Regions from separate parts of the Homo sapiens genome. Here region 1 is linked to region 2. Evidence: promoter capture Hi-C in human tissues and cell types (Jung and others, 2019). All regions are on one chromosome and are shown on one strand. Each heading gives the region's core, a stretch centred on a gene start or on the middle of the fragment in contact. The rest is flanking DNA. Distances are from core to core; before and after follow the strand shown. Region 1 overlaps BTBD8 (BTB domain containing 8). Region 2 holds the start of C1orf146 (chromosome 1 open reading frame 146).

Evidence for each region. The method cuts DNA at HindIII sites, captures the fragments that hold promoters and counts their contacts. A contact is called where the count stands out against the background at its distance.
Region 1: a fragment that was not itself captured here is called in contact with the fragment with the promoter of C1orf146 in region 2 in 3 of the 25 tissues and cell types used here (adrenal gland, dorsolateral prefrontal cortex and spleen).

Annotation. Positions count from the first base shown.
Region 1 is chr1:92,128,567-92,132,072 of GRCh38, forward strand. It overlaps BTBD8 (BTB domain containing 8), which reads left to right. Exons shown (of 18, transcript NM_001376131.1): 5 at 1,121-1,210. Among named protein-coding and RNA genes, the nearest start is that of BTBD8, 50 kb to the left of the region's middle. The HindIII fragment of the contact is 5,139 bases long and covers 1-3,506 here.
Region 2 is chr1:92,215,588-92,219,330 of GRCh38, forward strand. C1orf146 (chromosome 1 open reading frame 146) reads left to right here and starts at 2,328. Exons shown (of 6, transcript NM_001012425.2): 1 at 2,328-2,461. The HindIII fragment of the contact is 16,370 bases long and covers 1-3,743 here.

The DNA of each region.
Region 1 (3,506 bases), core at 136-2,635, 88 kb before region 2:
CGCGCCCGGCCATTTTTTTGTATTTTTTTTTTTAGCACAGACAGGGTTTCATCATATTGGCCAGGCTGGTCTTGAACTCCCGACCTCAGGTGATCCACCCGCCTCGGCCTCCCAAAGTGCTGAGATGACAGGCGTGAGTCACCGTGCCTGGCCTATTATTTTTTAAATAGAATTTCATAGTTCTGTAATGTAGGCATTTATTTCCATTATGATTTACATGTAATGTAGGGATATATTTGGGAGTGACAGCAAGCATTTTTCCATCTGCGTGCAACTGGCTCTGATTATTGGTCACCTCTCCTACCCTTTCCCAGGTCGTTTAAATTGGTCATGGTAGGTTTTTTGTTTTTTGGTTTTTTTTTCATTGATTTGAAAAGGTTTTAGATTGTTACTAAGTATGAAGTGTAAATCTGGGAAAGAGCCTTGATTTACACTTTAGTATGAGATAGAAGGCCACCTTGTTAAAAATTTTTAAATTTCCAAAATAATCCATATTAAATTAGGGTTTGCTGATCAGTACTTTGTCTTTAGCTACCTTTTTATATTTAAAAAATTAAATATCAATTATGTTTTTATAAGCTTAAAAAATTAAAGAACCTTCAAAGAAAAAAAAAGACAGCAAGGGCATTGGAATTAATGTTTTAAACAATCAAAATGCTTAGTTATAAATCCCAGCACTTCAGGAATAGGGGGATTGCTTGAGGTCTAGAGTTTGAGACCAGTCTGGACAACATAGTGAGACCCCATTTCTACAAAAAATTTAAAAATCAAGTTGAGTGTGATACTGCATGCCTGTAGTGTTAGCTTCTTGGGAGGCTGAGGTGGGAGGATCATACGTGAGTCTAGGAGTTCAGGGCTGTAGTAAGCTATGATCACGCCACTGCATTCCAGCCAGGGTGACAGAGGAAGATCCTGTCTCTTAAAACAAAAAACAAAAAAAAAACCCTTAGGTATAAATATAAGCTTATAAGTTTTATTATGTAGTAATCCTGCCTATGAATACAAACAAAACAAATAGATTATTGTGTTTTAATACATAAAGATGAAAATTTTCATAAAAAATTACATTTTGAATAATATGTAAATGTTTACCTGTGTTTCTCCCCCCTCTTCCCTTTAGGGCCATTTTGAGTGCCAGATCTAGTTATTTTGCTGCAATGCTGAGTGGCTGTTGGGCTGAAAGCTCCCAAGAGTACGTTACTCTTCAAGGGTAAGCATATTTTTACAGGGCCATTTGACTGCAAATGATTGTAAATTGTATTTCATACAAAGCACTTTTTATGAATCTGATTTCCCTGGATGTTCAAGGAAATATTTCTCATGTAGAATTCAACAAAGTACATTTTCTGAAACGGGAAGTAATAGAGAGCATTTATTAATAGAGGTATTGTGTTAATCTGCTTATGCTTCTGTAACAGAATATCCAAACTGGGTGATTTAAACAACAGGTATTTATTTTCTCACGGTTCTGGAAACTGGAAGTTCAAGATAAACATGCCAGCAGTTTTGGTGTCTGATGAGGGCTCTGCCCCTGGGTTGCATTCTGCCGCCTTCTTGCTGTACACTCATGTGGCCTTTCCTTGGTGCGTGCACTTGGAGAGAGAGTTTTATGGTATTTCTTCTTATAAGGAAACGAATCCTATCAGATCAAGGACCCATGTGACCTCATTTAACCTTAATTACTTTCTCAGAGGCCCCATCTCTAAATATGACCACACTGGGGGTTAGGGCTTTACCATATGAATTTGGAGGGAACACAGACATTTCAGTTCATAACAGGTAGTTTTTAAATTTTTCTTTTATTTTTATTTTTTTGAGATGGGATCTTGCTGTGTTGCCCAGGCTGGAGTGCAGTGACACAATCATGGCTCAGGAGTTTGAGGCTGCAGTGGGCCATGATTATACCACTACATTCCAGCCTGGGTAACAGAGCCAAACCCTGTCTCAAAAAAAATATATATATATATATATTTACACACACACACACACACACACACACACATATACGCACACACACATATATATACACACAGTATATATTTTATATAACTTAAAGTATCTCCAGTTATCTCAAAAGGATCTTAATTGTTTAAACTGTTAATATGCAAAGCAAATATTTACATTCAATTTCTTTTTTTTGTTTGTTTTTTGAGATGGAGTCTCATTCGGTCACCCAGGCTGGAGTCAAGTGGTGGGATCTCAGCTCACTGCAACCTCCAGCTGCCTCCCAGGTTCAAGTGATTTTCCTGCCTCAGCCTCCTGAGTAGCTGGGATTACAGGCATGCGCCACCACGCCTGGCTAATTTTTGTATTTTTAGTAGAAATGGGGTTTTGCCATGTTGGCCAGGCTGGCCTTGAACTCCTGACCTCAAGTAATTCACCTTGCCTTGGCATCCCAAAGTGTTGGGATTACAGGCGTGAGCTACTGCGCTTGGCCTACGTTCAAGTTTTTAAATACTAATATAACACTTTTAGGAAGGGATATTACAAAATCAAATTAATAGCAGTTCATAAATAAAGAGGTAGAAATCACTGACCTTGCCAGAAGGACTATGCTGGAGACATTTCCAAAGAAGGTTTTCCTCTTTGAGAGAGGAGATCTTCAGAAATATACATTTAGAGACTAGATATACAAATTGGCTGTTCAATGGTCTTTATTAAGTGTATAAAGAGAAATTAAACTCTTCAACCTAACTGAGAAATAAGTGTGCTTAGAAACGTCCAAAACACAAAACATGAAAATACATGGCGTGGGCAATACATAGCAAAGATATGTAACAACAAGAGAAGTGAGTTGTTTTCACTACTTGTATCTACCTTTTATTTGTTTTCATTTATTATTCTATATATGTGCTTTTAAAAAATACATTATGTAGGGCGGGCACGGTGGCTCCCACCTGTAATCCCAGCATTTCAGGAGGCCAGGGCGAGTGGATCACCAGAGGTCAGGAGTTCAGGACCAGCCTGACCAACATGGTGAAACCACGTCTCTACTAAAAATACAAAAATTAGCTGGGCATGATGGCACGTGCCTGTAATCCCAGCTACTCAGGAGGCTGAGGCAGGAGAATCGCTTGAACTGGGGAGGCAGAGGTTGCAGTGAGCTGAGATCGTGCCACTGCACTCCAGCCTGGGCGACAGAGCGAGACTCTGTCTCAAAAAAAAAAAAAAAACCACACACATTATGTAATGATGATCTAATTAAATTCTCTCTTTTTATGTGAGGTCAACATAGGGCCTCAAGTGATCCTCCTGCCTCAGCCTCCCAAGTAGCTGGGACTATAGATGTGTACTCCCACACCTTGCTAGTTTTTATAATTTTTAGTAGAGGTGAGGTCTCATCGTGTTGCCCAGGCCAGTCTCAAACTCTTGATCTCAAGTGATCCTCCCACCTTGGCCTCCCAAAGTACTGGGATTATAGATGTTAGCCACCGGACCCAGCTTAAATCACATTTGTCAAATCATAATTCAGAGTTCATTCTACCACAGTCATTGAAGAAATTTAA
Region 2 (3,743 bases), core at 1,078-3,577:
CATGTGAAATTTGAGATGTCTATTACTGGAAATATTAAACAGCAATTGGTTATACCAGTTTGGAGTTCAGGGGAAAGGCCAGGGCTGTAGATAGATATTTGGAATTTGTCAGCACATGGATGATATCTAACACTATGAGTTAAGGAGGACACCAAAGTAACAAATATACCCAGAGAAGAAAAGAGGTCCAAGGACTGAGCTTGCGGCACTCCAAGCAAGATTAAAAGGTTGGGTTTTGAGGAAGAACCAATAAGGATGCTGATAAATGGCCAGTGAGGCTGGAGGGAAACCATGAGAGCATGATATGGGGAAGCCAAGGAAAGAAAGTTTTTCCAGGAGGAGGGAATGATCAACTGTAACAAGTACTGCTGATTGACCAAGTAAAATTAGTATTGACAGCTGTTTGCTGGATTTACCAATGACTTTGACATGAGCAATTTCTGTGGTATGGTGGAAATGAAAAAGTCTGATTGGAATAAATTTGATAAAGAATGGGAAAAAAGGGCATTAGCAACAGAAATTATAGACAATCCTTTTGAGTTTTTCTGTAAAGAGAGCAGAGAAATGGATTGTTAGCTGGTGTGGGAGAGGAGATTAAGAGATTTTAAGATGAGAGAAATAATGGCATATTTATTTGCTATTGAGACTATTCAGTGGAGAGGAGAAAATTGAAGATTGTAAGAGTCAGGAAATAATTGGTGGATATATATATATATATATATATATATATATTTTTTTTTTTTTGAGACAGTTTTGCTCTGTTGTTCAGGCTGGAGTGCAGTGGCATGATCTTGGCTCACTACAACCTCTGCCTCCCAGGTTCAAGCAATTCTCCTGCCTCAGCCTCCCAAGTAGCTGGGACTACAGGTGTGCACCACCACACCTGGCTAATTTTTTGTATTTTTAGTAGAGATGAGGTTTTGCCATATTGGCCAGGCTGATCTTGATCTCCTGACCTTGTGATTCACCTGCCTCAGCCTCCCAAAGGGCTGGGATTACAGGCGTGAGCCACCGCGACTGGCCGGTGGAGCTATATTCTTGGGTAAGCAAGAAGAGATGGGCTCTGTTGTCCATTTGAGGGCTGGCCTTACATAGGATTATACAGTTCACCTACTATAGTTGGAAAGAAAGCAGAATCTGGCATATAGATGTTGGTAGATTGGTAGGTGGACATCTGTGGAACTTCGTTTCTGGATGCTTTTATTTATCTCATTTGAATAGTATTTAATATTAAATACTAAATACTATTAAAATCATAAATCTTTATGAAATATTAGCAGTAACTATTTCACTTCAGCCGAAAATGAAGATGAGGAATAAGTTCTGGAGATTTGAAGAGAGGAGGAATTGTCTTAGTCCATTATGGCCACGATAACAAAATACCTTAGACCAGGTAATTTATAAACAAGAGGCCAGGTGTGGTGGCTTAACAAACTGCCCAAATGAGGCAGCAAGAGTGCACCTAATTTTAATATCAGTTATACAAAATGCCAAACATACAAAATGGTTATCACAGGGAAAAATTAACAGCACATCACAAGTGTGCTCCAAAGGATTTTTCCTGGAGCACCTTTCTTTCTACAGGAATACCTGTTTTACAAAGTAAGGCACATAGTTTTGTATCCTAACCATTAGGCTCAAGGCAAGTAGTGGTCTTTGTCTTTTTACATTTTTATGATTGTGACACTTAATAAATTGCTGAGCTTCAATTAGGTCTGAACATAATGGGGTCCTAAAAAGCAAACACACAGGCCCCTGTATGTCCTTTTGACAGCTGCTCATGAAAATCTACCTTTTTCATAATTTGGATAAACTGAAGGCCACTTTGATTTTATGTTGCAAATGACAGAAATCTAAGAATTGAGCCTGAATTTTAGAAAACTGTGAAAATCAATTCCGGACAACTGAGTCTAACACGCAAAAATCTTGTTTTTTTTTTTTTTTTTTTTTTGAGACGGAGTCTTGCCCTGTCACCCAGGCTGGAGTGCAGTGGTGCGATCTCGCTCACTGCAACCTCCGCCTCCTGGGTTCAAGCGATTCTCCTGCCCCAGCCTCTCGAGTAGCTGGGATTACAGGTGCGCGCCTCCATGCCCAGCTAATTTTTGCATTTTTAGTAGAGACGGGGTTTCACCATGTTGGTACGCTGGTCTCAAACTTCTGACCTCGTGATCCGCCCACCTCGGCCTCCCAAAGTGCTGGGATTAGTGGCATGAGCCACCGCGCCAGGCCTACAAATCTTGTATCTTCTTAACCACTTCCGGCTTCCTGCAAACCTCGCTCTAGGGAGCCAGAAGCGCGGAAAAGGTTTGCGGGGTCTGCGGTTGCGCAGAAGCCCAGCGACTGCAGAACCCTGCCCCAGGCACCCTGGGCGCTCTGCCCTACCGGCGGCGCCTCTCACTGCTCACGGAACGTTCTGGAAGTTTGGGAAACCCTGAGCGGTCTCTGAGGACCTGGTGAGCAGGTGGGTTTGCAGCGCTGGGGATGAGGCCTCGGCAGACCTGTCTCTTCGCGTTTTTCTTTCTTCGTTCTTCGCCGGCGTAGTGCTCTCTGACTTGCCGAGCTCAGAGCTTTACCTCAGGGCTTTGGCGGGTGAGGGGAGGAGATCCTGCCCACCCTATTTTCCCCTTGAGAATCGGTGTGGAAAGGGCTCCCTCGGGGTTTTCCCTGTCAGAAGTCCGTCACCCACCTGCGAGTGTAAATTTTATTTGCTTTAGGCTTTGTTGGTCACTCCGAAAAGTAAAGAATGGAAGAGACCGTGAAGATCCTTGTAGGCCGGCGCCTCACTGGACCCGTGAGGAGACTGAGCAGGGAAAGTGACTTGCTGGAGATGATGGGGCAGTGTTAAACTTAAATTTGCAAACACTCCAGAGCTTGGAAAAAACAAAACAGTAGCAACAAAAGCCCAGAATACCAGGGCCTTGGAACTGGCAAAGGTTTAAGAGGCCACTGGGCCCACGCTTTTTGTTTTTATTTTTAATTTAACTTTTATGTTAGGTTCAGGAGTCCGTGTGCAGGTGTGTTACATAGGTTAAACTCGTGTCACGGGAGTTTGTTGTCCAGATTCTGTCGTCCCCCAGGTGCCCATTAGTGACTGTCCCTCCTCCACCTTCTGGTCCCCCGGTCCCGTCCCCCGCGCCTGCCCCTCCCCTCTGTCCCTGCACGCTCAGCGTTCACCTCCCGTTTAGAAGCTTTTTGTTTTCAGGTGAGGATGCAGCCTAACCAGAGGTGACGTGATTTGCCCAAAGCCACACAGTCCTTGCTTGGCTGCTGGTCGAGGAGCTTTTCCCCAGAAATGCTGAGAAGGCACTGCCCCAGCCCCAGGTTTCTGATTCATTCCTCACCTTTAACAGGGACTTGGGACACGACTGACCCCACTCCTTTCTCACTTATTGTGCACGTGATTACTTTACTTCTCTTAGCTTTAGTTAAATTGTTTTTAAAACCTATGTATAAGGGTGTAAAGATTTAAATGAACATTTATGGATTACTAACTGATAGGCACAAACATACATATCCACATACATACCAGTAACTACTCCAAAAAGTTCTTGTAACCTTTGCATATATGTATTCATAGCTATGTGGGTGTATTAGTAAGTATGTGTAGGGGGGGTTATAGAAGTTGAAGCCCTTCCCCCAGCCAACTCACCATTTACTCATTCACAAATCTTTGAGTGTCTACTGAGTGCCAGGTGCTGAGTAAGGTAAAACAGAATCAGAATGTGTCCCTGCTCTCATGGAGC